7 separate regions of the Homo sapiens genome follow, and regions 1, 2, 3, 5, 6 and 7 are each linked to region 4. The links are contacts of gene promoters, found by promoter capture Hi-C in blood cells and fetal thymus (Javierre and others, 2016). All regions are on one chromosome and are shown on one strand. The core of a region is centred on a gene start or on the middle of the fragment in contact, and the rest is flanking DNA. Distances in the headings are between cores, read along the strand shown. Region 1 has its middle 61 kb from the start of RELL1. Region 2 overlaps RELL1 (RELT like 1). Region 3 overlaps RELL1 (RELT like 1). Region 4 holds the start of ARAP2 (ArfGAP with RhoGAP domain, ankyrin repeat and PH domain 2). Region 5 overlaps LOC105374406 (a long non-coding RNA gene). Region 6 has its middle 3.4 kb from the start of RELL1. Region 7 has its middle 45 kb from the start of PGM2.

Region 1 (3,225 bases), core at 402-2,901, 1.5 Mb after region 4:
ATTGGGGATTATAATTCAGCATGAGATTTGGGTGGGGACACCGATTCAAACCATATCATCTGCTGTGCCAGTCCTAATGGTGCTTCAACATCAGGCAGTGGCTGGACCCACTGTAACCAGAGGCCCAGGCCAAGGGAAATAAGCTTCAAACCTCAGGATCCCATCTGGGCCTGCATTTGCTGGCTGCCTACCTCAGTATTCACTCTCCTTTATTCCTTACTACTTGAAATGCTGCCTTGTATTTTGGCATGTGGCTTCCTGGAGAATAAGAAACACATTTCTACACCTCCTTGCATCCAGCTGAGTCAATATTACTAAGTGCTGGCCAATGAGATATAAGCAGAGAGGCATGGAAACTTTCAGGAAGCCTCCTCAAAAGTCAGCTGCATCTCCCTTGGCCCTTTCTCAATTCTGCTTGGGAAGATACTGTGACTGGTGGTGCTATTGTTATCATCTTGGACCCTGAGGCAGAGGGGCCACACACTGGGGATGATAGGATGATGAACTGAAAGTTTTGGCAGGTCCTCAGCAACTTTGTGGAGCCACCATCCCAGCCCTGGATTATTTATCTCTGGACCTTGTTTTCAAGTAAGAGAAATAAACTTCAACTTTGTATAAGCCACTGCTTTTTTTTTCTTTTTCACAGATAAAAGGCAACTAACAAATATGCCAACTCTTAAATAAGAGCTGGAATTAGAGTCACTGGTGGCAAGCACAGAAAATCTGGGAAGAGGGAGAACACACCTATTGTACCATTGTTGTACGTTCCTTGATCTTGTCATCTCACTGGTTTCCCACTTCCTCACAGTCTGTGAATACCACCTTAATAAACTATTGCAGGCCTATTTTGGAGGTCTAAAATTATAATTAATTAATTAATTAATTAATTTTCTATCTTCCCTACTGAGCCCTAAGTTAGTATTCTCAAAGTCTGGTCCATTAACTACCTGCAGGAGAATCTCCTGGGGAAGTTATTAAATCTCTGCAGCCTCATGCTCAATCCCAGACCTATCACAGTAGAATGCCTCCAGTAAGTGTCAGGAATCTGTATGTTTAACATGACCTCCACCTGATTCTTATGTCCACTTAAGTTGAAGGCTACTCCTGCAGTCTCCCTTTGTGTGTCACTTATTGGTTTGCCTTTAAAAATAAGTTGCCTTGGCCAGGCACGGTGGCGCATGCCTGTAATCCCAGCAAATTTGGAGGCCAATGCAGGTGAATCACCTGAGGTCAGGAGTTCGAAACCAGCCTGGCTAACATGGTGAAACCCCATCTCTACTAAAAATACAAAATTAGCCAGGTGTGGTGGCGCATGCCTGCAATCCCAGCTACTTGAGAGGCTGAGGCAGGAGAATTGCTTGAACCTGTGAGGCAGAAATTGCAATGAGCCGAGATCATGCCATTGCACTCCAACCTGGGCAACAAGAGCAAAACTCCATCTCAAAAATAAACAAATAAATAAGTTGCCTTTGTTTATCATGTCTATATTCCCCAGTGCTTTGCCCTGGTGGGCCATAAATGTGCAGATGAATAAACAAATTCTATATTTGTATTTGTGAGTTTTCATTTGTAAATTTTTGTCATGTACACTATCTCAGTCAATTCTTATATCAATTCTTTGGCATAGCAGGGAAAGGGTTATTGTTGTTGTTTCACAGAGACCAAAATAGAGCTGAGATAGTAAGTGGTCTTTTTTACTATTTTAGGGTTTAAAAAACTAGGATTCAGACTGAGATCTCACTCAGAGGTCAAGCCTCTTTACTCCACACCAGCTGATCCTGGGTGATATAGAATACGCATTTATCTAAAGATCTAAAAATGCTTTATTCTGAATATCTCATTCATCCTCATAATATAACTATGTATTTGATATACATTCATAATCAACCATCTATATATGTATCAGTCTGTTCTTACACTGCTATACAGACATACCTGAGACTGGGTAATTTATAATGGAAAAAGGTTTAATTGGCTCATGTTTCTGTGGGCTGTACAGGCTTCTGCTTCTGGGAGGCCTCAGGAAACTTACAATCATGGCAGAAGGCAAAGGGGAAGGAAGCAGGCACATTTTCACATGGCTGGCAGGAGAGAGAGAGAAAAGGGGGAAATGCTACACATTTTTAAACAATCAAACCTCATGAGAACTCACTCGCTATCACAAGAACAGCAAGGGGGAAGTCCGCCCCCATGATCCAGTCACCTCCCACCAGGCCCCTCCTTCAACACTAGGAATTACAATTCAACATGAGATTTGGGTGGGGGCACAGAGCCAAACTATATCAACATGTAACAAGCAATTCACCGTCTTTGCAGCCAGTGTCACATTGCGTGAAAATCTGGTTACTGATATTGCACGGAGATATGACCATTGCAAGTTTCTAACCTTGCAAGGTACGATTCAACATTTCAATTCAAGTCAACACAAATTAATTGAACTTCTACAAAGTGCTAGATGTTGTATTAGATAGTGAGACACAAAAACAAAATGAACAAATATAGCTTCTACTGTTAAGGATGGAAAATTCTGGATGTTGAGAACAGAAGACTACTTTAGGCACAATGCCAAGGTTTTGACCAAAGTGTCAGAGTCCTCAAAGTGGGAGATTTTAAAGATTTGCTTGTGGAGGGATTTGCAGTATTGGCAGTGCTAGTATCTAGCTGTTACCCTGGTGACGGACTACATTATACTCTTGTAACTTCAACTGTGGACTCATAGGGATCATTATTAATGTGCTTCAAATGCGTAAGCCTTGAAAATATACATCTAACTTCAGAGGCAGATGTTGTTTAGAACTGGGTTTTCAAAACTTGCTGTATAGAATCATTTATGATAGATGAATCCCCCACTGCCAAAAAACCACACAGGAAGTCACAGACAGATGGCAATAACAGAAGCTCTAGGGAGCACATAATGATGTTCCATATGGCATATTGTGTGTGGCTCATAAAAGTGGCTCTAACATCCAGAAATGAATTAACCAGAAATCACATAGGAAATAAATCTTTTTGTGACCTTCATTACAGTCCAGGAGTCCATTGCAAATCAGCACACATTGCAGCAAGAATAAGTATGACAGAGGTAGGGAAAAAAACCCACAAATTTAAACGAAAATGAAATGCAAATTAAACAATCAGCAACAATTTATATATACTTGTAAAGCTTTAGTAGGCTAGTAGAGCTAGATTATAGTTCTAACTATTGGTTGGAGGGATGTCAAGATT
Region 2 (3,599 bases), core at 765-3,264, 1.4 Mb after region 4:
GGTCATTGTCCTGGGTTCCTGTCACAGAGTTCCTAAAGGCCTTGGAATTTCCTGATAGGAGTGTCTTTTGTTATTCATAATGAGCACCTTTTGATCACACCTGGGTTTACACTAATGCGGTGACTTGGGGTGGAGCCCCTAAACAGTCTCAGGGTGGGGCCAGTCATCATTAAGACCAAGTGATTAGAGGGTTGGAACTTTCAGCCCTACCCAGGGACCTCAGGAAAGTCAGAGCAGGGGAGGACGGGGCAGGGTTCTGGGACTGGAAATTAAACTGGACAAAACAACTCTTGAACAACAAGATTTGATAGCTTCCAGGTGGCTGAACAGGTGCAGGTGCCGGGAGGGTGGCGCACCCAGAGAGGGCAGGAAAGCTCTGCGCCCCACCCCAATACTATGCATCTCTTCTATTTTGTTGTTCGTGAGTTGCATCCTCTATAACAAGCCAGTACATGTAATAAAGTGTTTCCCTGAGTCCTGTAACCCATTCTAGGATTGTGGATCCCTCCTCCCAGCCATTTAAGATTATAGGTCAGAAGTACCAGAGCCCTGGCTTCCAACTGGCATCCCAAGTAGGGGCAGTCTTTTGGGATCTGACGCTAACTCTAGGTAGACAGAGTCAGAACTGTATTAAATTGCAGGGTTCGGGGATTTGGAGAACTGCAAAGTATGGAAAAAACCCACATCTTTGTCAGAAGTGTTGTGTGAGGATGGAGACAACCAAACAAACAAAGTGTGTTTGCCCAGCAGGTCAGCTGATAATCCATCCTTCAAGAGATATTTATCTAAATTAAAATTGACTTCCAACATTAAAGACATAATGTGTTTAAACCATAAACAAGAATGTTACCATGAGTACAGTTCAAATATCACCCCATTTGCCAAACTTAAAATGCGAAGCAGAAACCATTCATATATCATGATTGCAAATGTTTACGGATGCATGAATCCAGGAAAAGAAAACCTAAACACACGTGGGAAAAGGGTAATAGAGAGATTGTGCTTAATTTTATTCCTTTTTTAACGTAAAGGAAAAGTCATGGTACACGTATCACTTTTAAAACTAGAAAGCAAAATTTATATTAATTCCAATTTATCAAAGACAGAAAATATCAACAGAGAAGTCCAAATTGGTACTAAGTTCAAGTTATGTTAATCATTGAGACAAAAATATTTTTAAAAATGCATTTAGTCCACAAAATAGAGGATTTCAGTCTCAAAGCCGAACTCAAACATGCTAGGTTATAAACTGGTAAGAGATCAAGGCTGCATCTTATCACCAGGCTGTGGTTTTGGTGCAGGCTGGAAGCTGAAGAGGCCACAGCTGGAAAGGGGTGTGCAGCAACATCAGGTATTACCTGAGGGCCCAGGAAGGGAACCAAGGGCTGCGCAAAGGATTGGAGTCACCAGCTGTCCTCACGGGCCCCTGGAGAAACCGCAGGTACACAGATGAAGGCATGGACAGGAGAAGAGGGGACCCGGGGTTGAGAATAAGATAGAAGGCAAAGAGAACTGGGGAGCAGAGGAGAGAGGAGAAAAATGGCACCTCCGGTATTGACTGCTCAGTGGTACCTACTGGTGCTAAGCACAGTAAAAACACAAAGGCTACTTTCCAAAAGGAAAACAACATCATTTAAAAAGAAAAAGAAAAAAAAACCAAAACAGCCCTATTCGCCCATGAGTGTGGGAAGTGAGGAAATTATATAATACGCCTCCTCCAAGGACCCCAAACACCCTCTCTGCTGTAATTAAGAGAAGTGCTTACTGCCAGCACCGTCCTGCCATACCTGCTTGTGTGACTTTGAACAAGTGTCTTATCCTCTGGGTCGCTGTTTCCTAATCTACAAAATAGGGTGGTAACAGGGCCTACGTCATCTGGTACTTTTATTTTTATTTTTATTTATTTATTTATTTATTTATTTATTTATTTATTTTTGAGACAGAGTCTCACTCTGTCGCCCAGGCTGGAGTGCAGTGACAGTGCAATCTTGGCTCACTGCAGCCTCTGCCTCCCGGGTTCAAGTGATTCTCCTGCCTCAGCCTCCCAAGTAGATTACAGACATGCACCACCACGCCCAGCTAATTTTTACATTTTTAGTAGAGACGGGGTTTCACCACGTTGGCCAGGCTGGTCTCGAACTCCTGACCTCAAGTGATCCTCCTACCTTAGCCTCCCAAAGTGCTGGGATTACAGGCATGAGCCAGCACGCCCGGCCGCTACTTTGAAGAATTTATTGAGTTAATGCTTAAGGATTTCTACAAACTACCCCAGCTATATACTGTCCCTCTTTGAAAGGAATAAGTTTTCCATCCCTCTTTCATGCCACCTGGACAGAGGTACTACAGTAAGTGGTTAAAATAACAGACTATGGAACCAGAACACCTGAGCTCCAATCCCAGCTCCGCCACTTTCCAGCGGTGCAACACTGGCAACTTAGTTAAGTACGGTGGGCTTCACTTTATAACATGGGAAGAAAATGTCGAGATCACAGCATCCCTGGAAAGCCCACAGAACAGGCCCAGCACATAGCAAACCCTCATGAGTGCTATGACGTCGATACGTGAGAACTTTAACCCCTGGCAAGGTTCTCACAGTTTACTTATTTCGACTGATTCAACTGCCAGTACCCATTTCATGCATCATCACAAATTTGGCAACTGCTCCAGCTTTTAGAAGCCCGGGTCCCAAAGGCCTGCAAGCTCCCCACAGCCACGAAAGGCAGTCTGGAATGTGAAAGGCACAGAGGCAGTGAGGCGGTCATCCATGCCTTACACTGCACACTTCCAGAATGGGTACATCTTCTAGGCCAAGGACATAGTCATGCATTGCTTGGGCAAATTCAAAAGCACTTTTTTTTCATATAAAAGAAACATCCATGATTGAGTACTCAAGAACAGTATCACCAACTACTGTGCCCTGAAGGAAGGTCTCTGGAAGACAGAGATCAAAATCCAAGTATTCTGGTCTTTTTTGTTATTTTAAACATCATCCGAGTAAGTTTGGTTGTCTGACTTTATAGACTGCAGAAATTGACAACTGCATATTAGAAGACAGGAGGGACAATATCGTGTGGTTGAAAAGGATGCTGAATTTGAAACCAGACAGACAGAGCTGGGCTGCTCACTAACCATGTGAATTTAATTACTTGGAACCTTCTTTCTTTATCTGTAAAATGGGTGTAACTGAACTAACTTTATAGGGATGTTTTGAAGATTAAATGAGATTACGTATATAAAGCACCCAGATCTATGCCAAAAGCATAAAGCACATTCTAAAAACAGCAATGAAAATTATGCTCAACCATACGAAACTGCTGTTTCTCTAAGTCAAAAACCGTTGAAGAGAGTCAAACTGACAAACAGGCTGGGCAGGCAGGTGCTCTTGTGGAGTAGTGAGGATCTGGGAGTGTGGGGTGCCCAGGGCAGGGCCTGAGGGCAGAGGAGCAGGTATTTACTGATGAGTGTGGTGTATTTCAACCTTTAGACAAATGGCTCAGCTCTATCAGGCTGAGCTCTATCAGTCCACGAGCCCATGCTGGCTAAAGCACAGACAAAGCCCAGGGGAAACATTTTCTTTTAAATTGTAATGAGAATTCACA
Region 3 (3,283 bases), core at 457-2,956, 1.4 Mb after region 4:
CCCACAGTGCTGGGATTACAGGCGTGAGCCACCGCGCCCAGCCGGGAATGGTTATTTCTAAGGCCTCCTTAATGCAAACAAGAAAATGGCCCAAATTCCTAAGGGACTTGACAAATACTATCTATTTCTGAGATGTCCTGAGAGTCCAAAGCTGTAATGTTCTTAAGATGTAAAAAGGAATTCACAGTACCAAAAGCTGATGCTTCAGAAATGACCTAATAAATAATTAAGACCACCAGCCATGACAATTGTTAACAGCAGTGAATGTTTAGCAGATACTCTGTGCCAAGGATTGACTTATGAACTACACATATATCGTATCATGTATGTCCAGCAACGATCTCATTTTAAAGATGAAATAACCGGGGCTTGAAAACATTAAGTAACTTGCCCAAAACCATTGGTAGTTAAGTGGCACAATTAAAAGTAAGGAGTTTAAAACCCAGCTTTTAATCACTGAAATAAATTACTAAAATAAAAATCAATACAATAGTCTGAATAAAACAAAAATAAAAACAGATGTCTAATATTATGAATTTTTGTTTTGATAAAAGAAATGCTACTGTAATACTGCAATACTACTAGAAAAACACATAGGAGGAAAGTTCCATGACACTGATCTGGACAATGATTTTTTGATAAGATCCCAAAAGCGCAGGCAACAAAAATGGACAAATGGGATTTCATCAAACTAAAAAGCTTCTGCAGAGCAAAGCAATCAACAGAGTGAAGAGATAACTTATAAAATGGGAGAAAATATTTGCAAACCATACATCTTATAAATGGTTACTATCCAAAATATATAAGAAACACAAACAACTCAAAAGCAAGAAAACAAATAACCCAATTTAAAAATGGGGCAAAATGGGAAGGGAGGGTTGGGGAGATGATGGTCAAAGGACATAAAATTTCAATTAGGAGGAATAGGCCATCAAATCCAAATTTGAGCAAAAACCTCTTTCAGGAAAAATTACAACTCTAAAGACTGTATCAGAAATCTATTGCACAATATGGTGGCTACAGTTAATAACAATGTATTGTATTCTTGAAAAATGCTAAGAGAGATTTTAAATATCCTCACCACAAAAAAATGATAAATATATGATGTAATACATATGTCAATCAGCTCAATTTAGCCATTCCATAATGTATGCATGTTTCAAAACAACATGTCGTACATAATAAATATAGATAATTTTTGTCAATAAAAATAAATAAAATGTTAAAAAAATTGTAATGGGCAAAGATTCTAAATAGAAATTTCTCAAAAGAAGACCTACAAATGGCCAACAAATATATGAAAAAAAGGCTCAACATTACTAATCATCATGGAAATATAAATTAAAACTATAATGAGATAATACCTCACACCTGTTAGAATGACAATTATAAAAAAAGTGCTGATGGGGATGTGGAGAAAAAGAAATTCTTGCATACTGTTAGTGGGAATATACATTATTACAGTCATCATGGAAAACAGTACGCAGGTCACTAACAAAAATTAAAAATAGACCGGGCACAGTGGCTTGCACCTGTAATCCAAGCACTTTGGGAGGCCGAGGCAGGTGGATCACTTGAGATCAGGAGTTCAAGATCAGCCTGGCCAACATGATGAAACCCTGTCTCTCCTAAAAATACAAAAGTTAGCCAGGTGTGGTGGCTTGCATCTGCAATCCCAGCTACTCAGGAGGCTGTGGCAGGAGAATCGTCTGAACCCGGGAGGCAGAGGCTGCAGTGAGCCGAGATTGTCCCACTGCATTGCAACCTGGGCGAGAGTGAGACTCTGTCTCAGAAAACAAACAAACAAATTAAAAATAGAACTACCATATGATCCAACAATCCCACTTCTCAGTACATATCCAGAGGTACTGAAATCAGTATGTCAAAGAGATATCTGTACTGCCATGTCCACTGCTGCATTATCCCAATAGCCAAGATATGGAATCTTCCTAAGAGTCCCTGAACATATGAATGAATAAAATGTAGTATAGATACATAATGAAACACTGTTCGGCCAGAAAAAAAGAAGGAAATCCTGTCATTGAAGATAAAATGGATAAACCTGGAGCACATTACATTGAGTGAAATAAGCCAGGCACAGAACGACAAATACCACGTCATCTCACTTACATGTGGAATCTAAAAAAAGTTGAACTCATAGAAGCAGAGAGAAGAAAGGTGGTTAGAGGTAGGGGCGGGGGAGGGGTTGGTCAAAAGACACAAAATTTTAGTTAGAGGGGATAAATAATTTCAAGAGATCTATTGTACAACATGGTGACTGCAGTTAATAACAATGTATCATATTCTTAAAAATTGCTAAGAGAGTAGATTTGGAGTGTTCTCACCACGCAAAAAAATTATAAGTATGTGTGGCAATGCATACGTTCATTAGCTCAATTTAGCCATCGCAGTGTACACACATTTGAAAACATTACATTGCACATGATAAATATATGCAACTTTCATGTGTCCATTAAAATCTGATTAATTTTCAATAAAAAATTTTAAAGTATGGTTATGTAAACTTACTAAATCAATGTTTCCAACAGGACACTATCAGCGAATGGAACAAAAGAGGGCAGACTTCAGAAACATGCGACACAGAATGCTTAGGACAGGATCATTTTTAAAAAGCCAAAGACCAGTGACAATGAAGACAAGGCAGTGGCATTTGGAGGCTGAAAGCAATTCAATTTATTTAACTTTGAAGAACAAAAGCTTATTCTTCTCAGGAGAAACCAAAACACATTTTCTGCAGAAAAAAGACCATTTTAACCGCATTGCCAAAATAAATCAGGCAGAGGGCAAGAGGGCAAGTTAGATGTAGCCACAAACAAGAACTCAGACCAACAAAGCAGGGTTAGACGAATGGGGAGGCCATGCCCAACATCAGATTTGGGGTTTTAAAGGGAGAAGGAACCAGAAGGGAGAGAGAGAAATCCTGCCACAGTCTTGATAACATTCTATTTAGAATATAAGTTTAGTTTCTGGTAACAAACACCTTAAACAAAAGAAATAAAAAAAGAAACCTAACCAATAAGTGGATATGCATTTGTATTTGAATATTTGAGTCTGTTCTACAATAAAACAAAACATTGCAGTAAAATTGTTTGGCTAAAAATCCAAATTTGAGCAAAAACCTCTTTCAGGAAAAAATACAACTCTAAAGACTGTATCAGATTGTAGAAGAGACACATAGCACTCCTCTCCTGCTTCACTAGCTGCATTCCAGTGCAGATCTTCTGGCTTCGTCTAGAACCAGAGAGTCTGGCCCAGAAGTAAA
Region 4 (3,197 bases), core at 266-2,765:
TTTTTTTCTTCTTTAAACGTTGTTGGACAAAAAATGTCATGAGTATTTTCTCTCAATATTTCTCCTGTAAGTGTATGGAAGTCATAAATAAGAGTTAAAAAAAAAAGAGTTTAAAGGTATTTCTCTTTTTTTCCTTAAAAAAAGTTAGCTTGCTTTTTATCTTCCAATTACTTACGGGCAAAGTTCCATGGGCCTGTGGGGGTGTAGAGTGCTTAAGTGCAGATAAATCAATACTGAGCTTGTAAGTACAATACTATTATGAGTAATAACAATGACATCCTATTAAATGTACTTTTAAAAATAGCTTATTTTCAATACACTTCTTGATTTTTTTTAAACCGAAGGCTGTATTCTACTGAACAGCCTACTTCAAGGACAAGCTTGCAAAAAAAAAAAAAAAAAAAAAAAGAATTTGCTATCAGGATACCTACTTACAACACCCTAAGATGTCATTATTCCACACAAATTAGCTTATTTTCTTGTGTTTTCCTCTAATTATCAAAGGCTATATAATCCACGAACCCTTTCCCCAAATCAAAATAACTCCAGATCACCTCAAGGTAGGAGGTGTTTAAGAAAACAAGCCAGAATTAGATAAAGTAAAACTTACTTTATTAAATAGGATGGACACCACTTCTCCCAAGAGAACTGTCTCCAAAAGTAAACAAGAAAGATCAATCTGGTAAACTCACATCATACAGGTTCCCGTGTAAGGTATCGGGTTCAGGCAGGTGGAAGCCAAATGATCGTAATTAAAGTTAATTAACAGGCCAGTCGTCTTAACGTGGTTAACAAGCAGGGTGCGGGGCAGCACAGACACCCGGGCAAATTCATGATCTCTACCGAGTAAATAACTTGGTGCCTGAAACTCACTACAGCTTCTTCTTATTTAAAGGTAGGGGAGAGGAATGGAGGGAGTGTCCAGCTGTCTATCCGGATCCTCACCCTCCCGGGTCAAATCCCAGAAGTGGAGTTCTTGGATCACTTACCGGCTTCTGGTTTCCTTTCAGACGCCCACACGCGGGAGCGAAATCCAAGGGGCGGACACCAGAGCCGAGCACTTTGCGCTGAGGAAATTTACCCGGTGAAGTGTCGAAAAGCCCCAGCCCCTCCAGACAGGGTCCTCCCACCCCCGCGTGGGCCATCCCGGCCCAGCCTTCCCGAGGCCCCGGGTACTCGCCTTGCGCTCGGGTCGCGGAGTTCGAAAAGCGAGGTGAGGCGGCGCTGGGAAGCTCAGCGCCGGCGTCTCTCCCAGCCTTGGGCGCTCGGTCCTCGCCCCTCTGCCGGAGGCGCCAGGCCTCCTCTTTCCCGGTCCCCGCCGGCTGTCCGCAGTCGCCTCTGCTGCCTGGCGGCGGCCGCGCGGGCGGCGCTGTTAGTGGGGCCGGCGTGTCGCGGCCGCCGCACCTGGAGGCGGGGAGCGCGGGCCGCGGACCCGCGCTCAGCTCCGGAAACGCCGAGCCCGGCGCCCGCGCCTTGCTCAGGTGCTCCCGCGCCTCGCCTCGGCCGCCGCTTCCTCTCCGCCCGCGGGGGCGGGGAGCAGGCGCCCCGCGCGGGGGAAGCCGGAGCTCAACGGCGGGGGCGGCCCAGCCGGCCTCCCTGGTTCCGCAGCATAGTTGGGTGACTGACTCAGACCGCCGCGACTTGGCCGCGCCTGGCACCCTCGCCACCTGGCGCACCTCGGCCCGGAGGCGTCAGACCCCGCTGGGGAAGCTGCGGGGGCGCGCCCTGGAGCCCAGAGCGACAGGGGCATTACCCACCTTCCCGGGACGGAGATGCCCAGGACCTTGTGTTGGCTCCTCCTGGCCAGTGGGTTTGTCTGTGCGCACTCATGGGGGGTTGAATGTCAAATGGGCGGAACCTCGCCACGACTGATTATTAGTATTACTCTTCCAAGTACTTAAAGTGTTAGCTCAGCGTTTCCCAAACTGAAGACTCATCTAGGGCACTATTTTCCCCAGGCTGCTTCTATGTAAATTTGCTCCTTCTTGCACCTGTGGCGGTTAGATCCCAGAGGGGCATTTCCCCTTTGAGTTGGACTCTGACAAAGGAGGCAGCGAAGGAAAATAGGGGATCCCAAAGAACCCTTGTGGACCTCCAAATATCTAAGCGTCCGTAAAATCCAGTTATTTGCAAGTGAGTTCACAGACCAACTACTTTTTTTTTTTTTTTTTAGACAGGGTCTCACTTTGTCACCCAGGCTGGAGTGTAGTGAGGCAATCTCAGCTCATTGCGCCTCCGCCTCTGGGTCCAAGCTATCCTCCCACGTCAGCCTCCCAGGTAGCTGGGATTACAGGCGCGCACCATCAGCCAAGGTAATTTTTTTTGTATTTTTGGTATAGACGGAGTTTCGCCTTGTTGCCCAGGCTGGTCTCAAACTCCTGACCTCAAGTGATCCACCTGCCTCGGCCTCCCAAAGTGCTGGGATTACAGGCGTGAGACACTGCCCCCTACCAGCTTTTTTTTTTTTTTTTATAAACATCTCCCACAGACTACCTGAAATTCTCTTCATTAAAAGGTGAAATGTATTTATCTTTCCCCTGTTCCTGTTGATGGAAGTGAAGCAATTAAGGAAAGCGCAGACCTTATGAAAATGAGATAATTGGTGAAGTGCGGAAAGAGAGAGGCTTCCCACAAGCCTGGGCCCTTAGGATTCTTCAGTCATCACCTTCACCCACACTAACTACCTGCCCAAAGCACCGTCTTTCCCTGGGGAGACTCTGAAGCAGCTCTGTCTTACTAGAGACACCAAATATCCAGTTCCTTTTGAACTTAATACCTCATAGCCGACCTCATTTCCACCAGGAAAGTTTTATTGACATTTTCCAAACCACGGGAACTTTTTCTCTGGATTCCTATAGCATTTATAGGAGGAATTTTATTTATGTGGCTCTTTTCTGGCTTCATTCTCTGTGTGTGTGTGTTTCTTTTGTTCTTTTTCCCTTTTCCCTCTCCAAATTCTCACATACTTCTCTCTTTTTTTTTATCTCTCTCTTTTTTGTTTTTGTTTTTGTTTTCGACTGAGCCCCGCTGTATCGCCCAGGCTGGAGCGTGGAGAGCAGTGGCGCGATCTCAGCTCACTGCAGCCTCCGCCTCCTGGGTTCAAGCCATTCTCCCGCCTCAGCCTCCTGAGTAGCTGGGATTACAGGCATGCACCACCACGCCTAGCTAATTTTCGTGTTTTTAGTAGAGGCAGGGTT
Region 5 (3,336 bases), core at 445-2,944, 1.5 Mb after region 4:
TACAGGGTGAGTGTGCCACATCCAACTCTTTTGTTCAAAAGAAATTGCTTTTCCACTTTCTGGAAGCTTTTGATGTAGTTTTGAGCATACAGAAGAGGGCTGGTTTATTCTAAGTATTGGGAACCCCTTCCTAAGGTCAAACTCTGAGGTTTAGGATGTCAAAGCATAGGCTTATCAAAAAAGCTTCTGATCACACACACACACACACACCGTTAATGCAACATTGACTTCCTCTAACAAGGCAAGTAGGGAGAGAGACGATAGCGGGAGAGATCTGGCTGGTCAGTCTTTCTCTGCCTCCTTTGCTGCTGACCCCAGGCAGTGTGTCTATGACCTCAGCTAGCAAGATTATTTTCTCTTGTCCATAGAAGGAGGTTGGACTCTCCCCCATACTGCATGTCAAAAACTGTAAAAGCCAGGTCAGCATTCTTCAAAAAGATTTATGAGATCAATGCTCCGTGCTCAGTAACAGTAGAGCAGAGCAGTCTGGACTTCTATGCAAAACCTTTCCTTAGAGAACTGGGGGTTACAGCAGCAAGCAGAACTGGGGGTTACAGTATTAGCTTAGATACACATTGGTGCCTCCACAGGCTTTCTTTCCAATGCAGACAACTTGTTTACACTGCTTGCTTTTTGAGTATAAACATTAAAAAAACTTTTCTTTGTTTCTTTTTTTTTTTTTTTGAGACAGGATCACAGGATCTCAGGATCTCACTCTGTCACCCAGGTTGGAGTGCACTGATGTGATCTCAGCTCACTGCAACCTCTGCCTCCCAGGCTCAAGTGATCCTCCTACCTCAGCCTCCAGAGTAGGTGGGACTACAGGTGCATGCCACCCTGCCTGGCTAATTTTTGTATTTTTTGTAGAGACAGGGTTTTGCCATGTTGCCCAGGCTGGTCTCGAACTCCTGAGCTCAGGTGATCCACCCACCTTGGTCTCCCAAAGTGCTAGGATTACAGTCATGAGCCACTGCACCCAGCCTAAAAACTTTTCTAAAAGACAACATATTCAAAAATAAATTTCATGGGAACATTTTAATGACATTTCTTAAGTTAACATGTTTCTGATTTGTCAAAGTGAAGTGTAAACACTGTCCAAATGTAAACACTTTCGAAGTGTAAACACTCTCAAAGTGTGTTGGAGAATACAGATCCTCTTATGTGGAAAGGAGTAGTGAGGCGGCCTTTAAACACTTACACAAAACACAAGCATTGCAAAGACATACTCTATGCGATAGAGAGGCAACAGGATCCTGAATGAACAGGTGTAGCCAAGGTGCTCTGCCAACGTGGACTTCCTGGACTGTGATTGGAAAGAGCAAAGGCTTCTTTCTTTCTTAAGCCACTGCATTTTTAAATTTCTTTCTTATAGCTGTCTAACCTTTATCCTGACAAATACACTGAGTAAAACAGAGCGAGTAGACAATCAACATTTGCTGAATAAATGAATAAATGTATAAGCAATGTGTTAGTGAATACAAATTTCCTCATACATCTAGGACAATGTAGCATCCTATATTGTTTTATTTGTTTCTGGGACAGTGTCTCCAAAGATAGCTCCAACCTGAACAGGGTCACACTGAGTCACATTGTGCCTGGGTAGGAGTGCCAGCTGCAGAGGGGGGTGATGGGTCCACCTCTGTGTCATGCAACTGCTAGTGTGACACTGAGAAATTAGGGTAGGAACTCTGGCCTCCAGGTGTTCTAAGAAATACAGACAGCAGCATCACCTACTACCCCCATCACAAATGTTTATGTGTCAGAGGTTTTTAAGAGAAAAATTAAGCAGATGGTAAAATAAAGACTTGATTAAATGTGATTTCTGGCCGGGCGCGGTGGCTCACGCCTGTAGTCCCAGCACTTTGGGAGGCCGAGGCGGGTGGATCATGAGGTCAGGAGATCGAGACCATCCTGGCTAACAGGGTGAAACCCCGTCTCTACTAAAAATACAAAAAATTAGCCGGGCGCGGTGGCGGGCGCCTGTAGTCCCAGCTACTCGGGAGGCTGAGGCAGGAGAATGGCGTGAACCCGGGAAGCGGAGCTTGCAGTGAGCCGAGATTGCGCCACTGCAGTCTGCAGTCCGACCTGGGCGACAGAGCGAGACTCCGTCTCAAAAAAAAAAAAAAAAAAAAAAAAAAAAATTGTGATTTCTATGCTTTGTCTTGTATGCACATTACACTTTTTGTGTGCAATCAACATGTATGCCATTTCTTATGGATAATGAGCTCATTTTGCCAGATCCATTTACAGCTAATAACAATCAGCAGTTACAATTATTGACATTCTCTTAGTTGGCAACTTCTACCACAATGAACATTTATTGTCAACTCTAATAGATAGAGAAAACTGTTGCAGAGAGCTACTGAATTAAGTCTTAAGGTAAAAATAGTCTTTTTTTGACTGTAGACATTTTGATCCAACCACTACAAGAAAAACATTGGAGTGGATTTCTCAGAAGAATACGGTGTTTACTAGGATGAAGGGGGAAAGTGAGCCGGGAACCAGTAGGATATGTGGGATGCAGGATATAATGGAACTGTTCACATGTTTTAAGATGTATTACAGCCCAGGTTGTGTCTAAATATTATCTTAAGTTTAAGGCCAGGCGTGGTGGCTCACGCCTGTAATCCCAGCACTTTGTGAGGCCAAGGCAGGTGGATCATTTTAAGTCAGGAGTTCAAGACCAGTTTGGCCAACATGGTGATACCCCGTCTCTACTAAAAATACAAAAATTAGCTGGATGTGGTGGCATACACCTGTAATCCCAGCTATTAGGGAGGCTGAGGCAGGAGAATCATTTGAACCCAGGTGGCGGAGGTTGCAGTGAGCCAAGATCACACCACTGTACTCCAACCTGAGTAACAGAGCGAGACTCCATCTCAAGAAAATAAAATAAAATAAAATGAAGTTTAGAGATCATGTAAATGAGTCCCATTTTCTGTGCATGGCTAAATAACTGGCATGTGACTACTTTAACTAGGGGATGTACAGGTTACCTTATTGGAAAGACAGTCTGAGGGTGGAAATTCTGACTCATCTGACCCAAAACAGTTACTGGTGGTCATAAATTGTAAGTGTCTACCTTCTTGAAACCACTACAGTTTTAGATTTCTTTGTTTCAACAGCTTAGCTTTTCTCTGAACAAATACACTCAGCAATACAAATTAAGCTCTTAAGCAAATATGTGTTGAAGCATGCATCAGTGCAAGCTTAGTTCCCAGGTGACTTTGCTGCTATCACGAGGGGATCAGTGAGGATGAGGTACCACAGGGTACATTTCTAAACTCACAGAGGACATGTAGGGTAAAAAAGGCCTGGGGCCTGGGACTGGAAGAA
Region 6 (3,354 bases), core at 184-2,683, 1.4 Mb after region 4:
AGGCAGGGCCTTCTGTTCAAAAATCGTTAAGAATTTCAAGATGGCAACAACACAACATTAAATCGATTGTGGAGCCCTCCTAAACACACAGTTGCACAGGTCACACACTTATAAAGCCAGCTCTGGTTTTGTAAGTTAGAATGTAACAAAATGCTTGAATCAAGAAATCTAATCAAAATGTAAAATGTCATTTCAAAATTGAATCATGTTTCACTCTTTTCCCACAGATTGGACTTAGTATTAAAAAGATGGGATCGTTTTTGGCTGGGCGCAGTAGCTCAAGCCTGTAATCCCAGCACTTTGGGAGGCCGAAGCAGGCAGATCACGAGGTCAGGAGATCGTAGACCATCCTGGCTAACACGGTGAAACCCCATCTGTACTAAAAATACAAAAAAGTAGCCAGGCGTGGTGGCGGGCGCCTGTAGTCCCAGCTACTCGGGAGGCTGAGGCAGGAGAATGGCGTGAACCCGGGAGGCGGAACTTGCAGTGAGCCGAGATTGTGCCACTGCACTGCAGCCTGGGCAACAGAGCGAGACTCCGTCTCAAAAGAAAAAAAGAAAAAAAAAAAAGAAAGACGGGATCATTTTTAACAACACATTTGAATTGTATATCTGTTATGGCTCTTCAAATATAAAAATCTAGTACTTAAGCCTTACCCATTATCTACCAGGCCCTTTGTTTTACAGATGAGAGATGGTTAAGTGATCTGCCTGACATATCTACTATGAGCCAGGGTTGAAACCCAGGGCTCTGAAATTTCTCTTCCTAAACTTTCCATAACACCTGCTTGACACACTCTCTATAAATGTCTTACTTTCACGTACCCCGTATACATGCATTTGTATGTCTTGTTAAAGGAATGAAGGAAGGGTAGGAGGAAGAGAGGGGGAGGGACGGAGGAAAGTGAAGAAGGGAAGGAGAGAGGAAAGAAAGAAAATCAAGCTTAAATTATTTTCCATATCCTTAACCCTACAGATTTATTCATACAATTTAAATAGCTTCTACATATGTATATCTAAAAATCCACTGTTTTATTTTAAAAGTAAGAACCCCAATGTAATGGAACTTCTATTCTCTATTATGAAGGGAATGTCATATTTCTTCTGAGGACATAAAATGGAAATCTTAAAACTAAGTTGTATTTCCATTTTTTCAGAAACAAAAGTAGAGTTTTAATAATTCTTAAGAATAACTGTCATTAATTAAAAACAATAATCCTCATTCTGCCCTTAGATTTAGCCCAATCCTATGGTGGGAACTCTTTTTGTATTCTTTCATCAATTCCTCACAATGATTTTATATTTAGGGAATCATTGTTAACACTCCTCACTTCAAAGCTGAGGGATTAGGGCATTTACCTGAGTCACATGGCCTCTCCCTGGCACCACCAGGATGCAAATCCAGGATCAGCTCCCTTGGGCCCACACTTGCAACCTCCTCTTGCACTATTCTGCCTCTGAAATGCAGAACTCCAGCCAACTAGCTCCTCTTTTGCAATCTAAAGTATTGTTCTCATATTCCTTCATTGCATGTTTAACCTAGCCTTTTTGAACTCTGTTTCAACAATTGCTTACATATTTTTCCTCAGTGAGAATAATTTATTGATTGATGGGAATGGATTAAAAATCAGAGTGTATAGGATCAAATTTACAAACATATACAATGTGATGTCCTTTCTGATTTTCATTGTTTTCAGTTTCTCTGTAAGGATTCAGTTAATCATTCCCCTTAGTAGAAACCTTTCCTGTTTTCCTCTGAACTGCTAAGCTGGTGATTTTCATCACCATCATTTAAATGCATAAGCCTCACTAGGCTGGTATTTACTCTAATTAATGTTGAACATGCTTCCGCAGAAGGCCTCTGTAGGATTTCTTTTGTGATTTAGATGTACTCATCTCTCTTTTTGAGAGGTTATATGCAGGAGATAAGCTTACATTTCTTTTTAAAAAATATGTCTGAAGGGGAATAAAATATTTTACACAATCTGGGGCTATTTTGATATGACAACAGATATGTGCTGTGTTCCTAGTACTGGGCTGAGCATGAGGGGTTGGAGGGGAGAGTCACTACAAGCTTAAGAAAAAGATTCTAACTTTGCTTTTAAAGTTTTAAGCCTACCTGGGAGAAAGGGAACTGTTGCATAAGTGAACAGAAATGGCTGGCCAGGCGCGGTGGCTCACGCCTGTAATCCCAGCACTTTGGGAGACTGAGGCAGGTGGATCACGAGGTCAGGAGATCGAGACCATCCTGGCTAACACGGTGAAACCCCGTCTCTACTAAAAATACAAAAAATTAGCCGGGCGTGGTGGCAGGCATCTGTAGTCCCAGCTACTTGGGAGGCTGAGGCAGGAGAATGGCGTGAACCCGGGAGGCGGAGCTTGCAGTGAGCCGAGATGGCGCCACTGCACTCCAGCCTGGGCAACAGAGCAAGACTCCAACTCAAAAAAAAAAAAAAAAGAAATGGCCAACAGCCCAGGGGTCAGGGGACACAGCCCTGCCAAAGATTCGCTCACTCTACTCTCTGCAGCTTCTTTTGGGTTGGTCTTCCAACCTATAAAATACAAGGATGATAGGATGATTTCTAAAGGTTCCCATCCAGCCCTAAGATTCTATACCATAATGAGTAATCAAATGATAGGGGTGCTAAGTCAGGCTAGACTGCAAGGTTTCTCAACACTGTGGACATTGTTGGTCCAGTAATTCTTTGTTGTGGGGGACTGTTGTGTGCACTGTAAGATGTCTAGCTACAATCCTTGACCTTTACTGACTACATGCCAGTAGCTCCCACCCCAGCTGTGACAACCAAACATATCTCCAGATATTACCAAATGACTCTAGGGAACAAAATCACACCCAGTTGATAACCACTGAGCTGGAGAAATCCCAAGAAGATCAAAAGAATTGTACTGGAAGCTCTTGAGCAAGGTTTCATGAAAGAGGTGCATCTTGAGCTGGGTCTTAAAGGACTGGGATTGATGGAGAGATGAGAAATGTGTATGAATGTATGTACAGTAAAAGAATTTGCATGGTACAGACTGCAGACTGCACAGTCATACATATGCATGAGGAAAAGAGGAGGATGGGTCAGCAATAACTGTGGGTCACAGCCAAGCATAACAGTCGACAAAAGGAGAATGGAGAGCTTCGATTGCCCAGGAATTTGTCATACTTTATAATAAATAATTTTATCGCCAAAATAGATTTTTTAAGGGATAATGAGAATAATTTCCATTGTTCAATTAAATGTATTCCATCATAAATTAGGAAGCCTCAGCTGGGTGCAGTGGCTCACTCCTGTAATCCCAGCACTTGGAAGTCCAAGGCAGGAGGATAGCTTAAGGCCAGGAGTCTGAA
Region 7 (3,558 bases), core at 356-2,855, 1.5 Mb after region 4:
TCAGCTGGGCACGGTGGCTCATGCCTGTAATCCTAGCACTTTGGGAGGCCAAGGCAGGTGTATTACCTGAGGTCAAGAGTTCAAGTCCAGCCTGACCAACATGGCGACACCCCCTCTCTATTAAAAATACAAAAATTAGCCAGGCATGATGGCGTGCGACTGTAATCTCAGCTACTCAAGAGGCTGAGGCAGGAGAATTTCTTGAACCCAGGAAGCAGAGGCTGCAGTGAGCCAAGATCATGCCACTGCACTCCAGCCTGTGTGACAGAACAAGGCTCTGTCTCAAAAAACTAAAAAATAAAAAAAAATGTGAAATTCAATGTGCCTGATGATGCTGCCAGAAAAGAGAAAGCTAGCCTGAGTAGACCTTCATTCAGTTCTACCCTTTCTTAAAGTATGTCCTGTGGAAGCTTAATGCTGAATTAAAGTCTCCTAGAAACCTTATTAGGGGATTTGGGTCAGGGACAATAGTTGTTCTTCATGACCTTCTTTTGTAACCTCCTAAAGAATGCTGTCTATCATCTCACTAGGTTCACAAGGCTTGTTTTGTCCTTTGTAGTATCTCCCATGGCCCATCCAAGGGAAAAGGAAGTTCTTGCTCAAAGAAAGTTTGTGCACTATGCAAATGCAGTGATATCATTTTTCATCAGGCTGAACTAAACAGCACACAACAAAACCAAGAACCTACACCACTGCTTGTGCACTTACATGCTAACATAAACTGTACAGATTTATAGTCCCTGATGTGTACAACATCCCTTATGTATTAGTCTGTTCTCATGCTGCTAATAAAGATATACCTGAGACTGGGTAATTTATAAAGGAAAGAGGTTTAATGGACTCACGTTCCTTAGGGCTGGGGAGGCCTCAGGAAACTTACAGTCATGGCAGAAGGAGAAGCAAACACGTCCTTCTTCACATGGCGGCAGCCAGGAGAAATACAGAGTAAAGGGGGGAAAAACCCCTTGTAAAACCATCAGATCTTGTGAGAACTCACTTACTATCATGTGAACAGCATGAAGATAACCACCCCCATGGTTCAATTACCACCCACTGAGTCCATCCCACAACACAGGGGGATTATGGGATCTACAGTTCAAGATGAGATTTCGGTGGGGACACAGCCAAACCATATTACCTTACATATGTGAATTATCTTGTTTGCTTCTGAACAGAACAGTGGTAACTACAATTGCTCTACATTTTACATTTAGGTGGATCTTAAGGTGACAAGATTTTACTCCTTTTCACAATTTTTGTGATGGGACAATAAGCAGGAGAGGAGAAAAAGGCAAAGGAGCATGTAAAAATAAATGACCTGTTTTTTACTATGTCCCCTTTCTCAGTAGAATATGAAAACTTCCTGTGTGGGTCCTTTTATGGCTGCTTCTAGATTTTCAAAGCTGTCCCAGCTGAGACGCAGGCAAAGAGAAGAAAGAGGCTGGGCTGAAAACCACTGCAATTTCCTGGGGAGAGAGTGCCCCCGGATGGGCCATTGATCTTCATTGTTCCTGCTAGACAAATAGACTTCTCAACATCAAATAAAACTTTACTTGATGAAGATTTGTTTGGAAGGATGCTTTGTTTATATTTCTTTACCCTTTTAGATATTACCTACAATTTCTGAGCACATGTGCCAAGATAAAAGAACTTAACAAGCAAAGAAAAAGGGCGTTTTTTTCTATAGGGAGAGGTTCTGAAAAATCCAAGAACATAAGACGGGTTTGTATACTGGCTGAACAACATGGGGTGGCTAAACTGGTTGTGTTTCTAAATTCTTTCAAACAGGCAGAGTTACTAATTTGTCTTATCAGATGCTCAGCATGATAAATCTAAACCAAATTATCCTATCACATGAAGTACTCTTCCCTTAAGAATCAATTAAGCATTGGAAAAATGAGAATTCTTACTTCTATGCAGAAATGATACTGTGTGGTTAGCTAAAACTAGGACTGTGTTAGCAAAACACAGACTGTATTAGGACTATGATTTGTGTACAAATCACAAAACTGATCATTCCAAAGAGAATGATAGAACAAGGGTAGCCTGGGAGTTTCTGAACTAGCATTGTAACACAATGAGTCAGTTGGTGTATCCCTCAATTCGGCTGGATTAATTTTTTTTTTTTTTTCTTTTGAGACGGAGTCTCGCTCTGTCTCCCAGGCTGGAGTGCAGTGGCGCGATCTCGGCTCACTGCAAGCTCCGCCTCCTGGGTTCACACCATTCTCTTGCCTCAGCCTCACAAGCAGCTGGGACTACAGGCGCCCGCCACCACGCCTGGCTAATTTTTTGTATTTTTAGTAGAGACGGGTTTTCACTGTGTTAGCCAGGATGGTCTCGATCTCCTGACCTTGTGATCTGCCCGCCTCAGCCTCCCAAAGTGCTGGGATTACAGGTGTGAGCCACTGCGCCCGGCCTCAGCTGGATTACTTTATCCCCAATACTGTCACCCTACTAGTTCCTGTCTTGCAGTGAAAAATAGCAGATCTGTGAGTCCAGGAGCTGGCTCAGGTTGGGGTTCACTGCTAGAATCACCCAGGTTGCTTTTGATAATGAACTCTATCTTCAGTCTGCAAAGTAGGTCGTGGGAGAACAAGTGAATTGAATATTGTTCATGAACTTTTATCATTTAATAGGGCTTCACTATAGAAAAAGTAAAAAATACAGGTAAGAATAAAGTAAAAGTTTTTTTACTTTTAAAAACTTTCCATTACCAAGAAGAAATCCTCTCCACTTTTTAGTGTGCGTTATATCCATCTGGATTTTTCTTTATAGTGTAAGTATGGTGAAAGCATGTGACTCAAGCTTTGATTCCAAAGTCAGCTAATGTGTTAGTCCATTTTCATGCTGCTGATAAACACATACCCAAGACTGGGTAATTTATAAAGAAAAAGAGGTTTGGCCAGACACGGTGGCTCACACCTGTAATCCCAGTAATTTGGGAGACTGAGGCAGGTGGATCACCTGAGTTCGGGAGTTCAAGACCAGCCTGACCAACATGGAGAAACTCCATCTCTACCAAAAATACAAAATTAGCTGGACGTGGTGGTGCATGCCTGTAATCCTACCTACTCAGGAGGCTGAGGCAGGAGAATTGCTTGAACCCAGGAGGTGGAGGTTGTGGTGAGCCAAGATCGCACCATCGCACTCCAGCCTGAGCAACAAGAGCAAAACTCCATCTCAAAAAAAAAGAAAAAGGTTTAATGAACTCACAGTTTCACGTGGCTGGGGAGGTTTTACAATCATGGCAGAAAGAGAAAGGCATGTTTTACATGGCAGCAAGCAAGAGAGAATGAGAGCCAAGCAAAAGGGGTTTCCCCTTATAAAATCATCAGATCTCATGAGACTTATTCACTATGATGAGGACAGTATGGGGGAAACTACCCCCATGATTCAATTATCTCCCACCAGGTCCCTCCCACAACACATGGGAATTATAGGTGCTACAAATCAAGAGGGGATTTGGGTGGGAACACAGCCAAACCATATCAGCTAATAAGGAGGGGAAACTTACAAATTATCACTGAACTGTCCTTAAATCACTCATAAGATTCAGTA

The links. The method cuts DNA at HindIII sites, captures the fragments that hold promoters and counts their contacts. A CHiCAGO score of 5 or more calls a contact.
Region 1: a fragment that was not itself captured here is called in contact with the fragment with the promoter of ARAP2 in region 4 in 1 of 17 cell types (M0 macrophages); the score reaches 8.9 in M0 macrophages.
Region 2: a contact is called between a fragment that was not itself captured here and the fragment with the promoter of ARAP2 in region 4, in 1 of 17 cell types (M2 macrophages). The highest score is 6.9, in M2 macrophages.
Region 3: a contact is called between a fragment that was not itself captured here and the fragment with the promoter of ARAP2 in region 4, in 1 of 17 cell types (M2 macrophages). The highest score is 5.4, in M2 macrophages.
Region 5: a contact is called between a fragment that was not itself captured here and the fragment with the promoter of ARAP2 in region 4, in 1 of 17 cell types (M0 macrophages). The highest score is 6.0, in M0 macrophages.
Region 6: a fragment that was not itself captured here is called in contact with the fragment with the promoter of ARAP2 in region 4 in 4 of 17 cell types (M0 macrophages, fetal thymus, M2 macrophages and 1 more); the score reaches 8.7 in M0 macrophages.
Region 7: a fragment that was not itself captured here is called in contact with the fragment with the promoter of ARAP2 in region 4 in 4 of 17 cell types (M0 macrophages, M2 macrophages, total CD4 T cells and 1 more); the score reaches 9.0 in M0 macrophages.

What each region holds. Positions count from the first base shown.
Region 1 is chr4:37,745,859-37,749,083 of GRCh38, forward strand. No RefSeq gene overlaps it. Among named protein-coding and RNA genes, the nearest start is that of RELL1, 61 kb to the left of the region's middle. The HindIII fragment of the contact is 3,020 bases long and covers 142-3,161 here.
Region 2 is chr4:37,642,544-37,646,142 of GRCh38, forward strand. The region is part of intron 3 of RELL1 (RELT like 1); the gene reads right to left. Among named protein-coding and RNA genes, the nearest start is that of RELL1, 42 kb to the right of the region's middle. The HindIII fragment of the contact is 5,400 bases long and covers 1-3,599 here.
Region 3 is chr4:37,624,686-37,627,968 of GRCh38, forward strand. The region is part of intron 6 of RELL1 (RELT like 1); the gene reads right to left. Among named protein-coding and RNA genes, the nearest start is that of RELL1, 60 kb to the right of the region's middle. The HindIII fragment of the contact is 2,019 bases long and covers 698-2,716 here.
Region 4 is chr4:36,242,999-36,246,195 of GRCh38, forward strand. ARAP2 (ArfGAP with RhoGAP domain, ankyrin repeat and PH domain 2) reads right to left here and starts at 1,516. Exons shown (of 33, transcript NM_015230.4): 1 at 1,181-1,516. It overlaps LOC439933 (a long non-coding RNA gene), which reads left to right and starts at 1,118. Exons shown (of 5, transcript NR_122079.1): 1 at 1,118-1,213; 2 at 2,174-2,312. RefSeq lists a silencer at 1,312-1,891. The HindIII fragment of the contact is 5,605 bases long and covers 379-3,197 here.
Region 5 is chr4:37,762,847-37,766,182 of GRCh38, forward strand. LOC105374406 (a long non-coding RNA gene) reads left to right here. Exons shown (of 3, transcript XR_001741505.2): 3 at 1-979. Among named protein-coding and RNA genes, the nearest start is that of PGM2, 62 kb to the right of the region's middle. The HindIII fragment of the contact is 3,026 bases long and covers 182-3,207 here.
Region 6 is chr4:37,688,133-37,691,486 of GRCh38, forward strand. No RefSeq gene overlaps it. Among named protein-coding and RNA genes, the nearest start is that of RELL1, 3.4 kb to the left of the region's middle. The HindIII fragment of the contact is 987 bases long and covers 941-1,927 here.
Region 7 is chr4:37,779,532-37,783,089 of GRCh38, forward strand. No RefSeq gene overlaps it. Among named protein-coding and RNA genes, the nearest start is that of PGM2, 45 kb to the right of the region's middle. The HindIII fragment of the contact is 2,395 bases long and covers 409-2,803 here.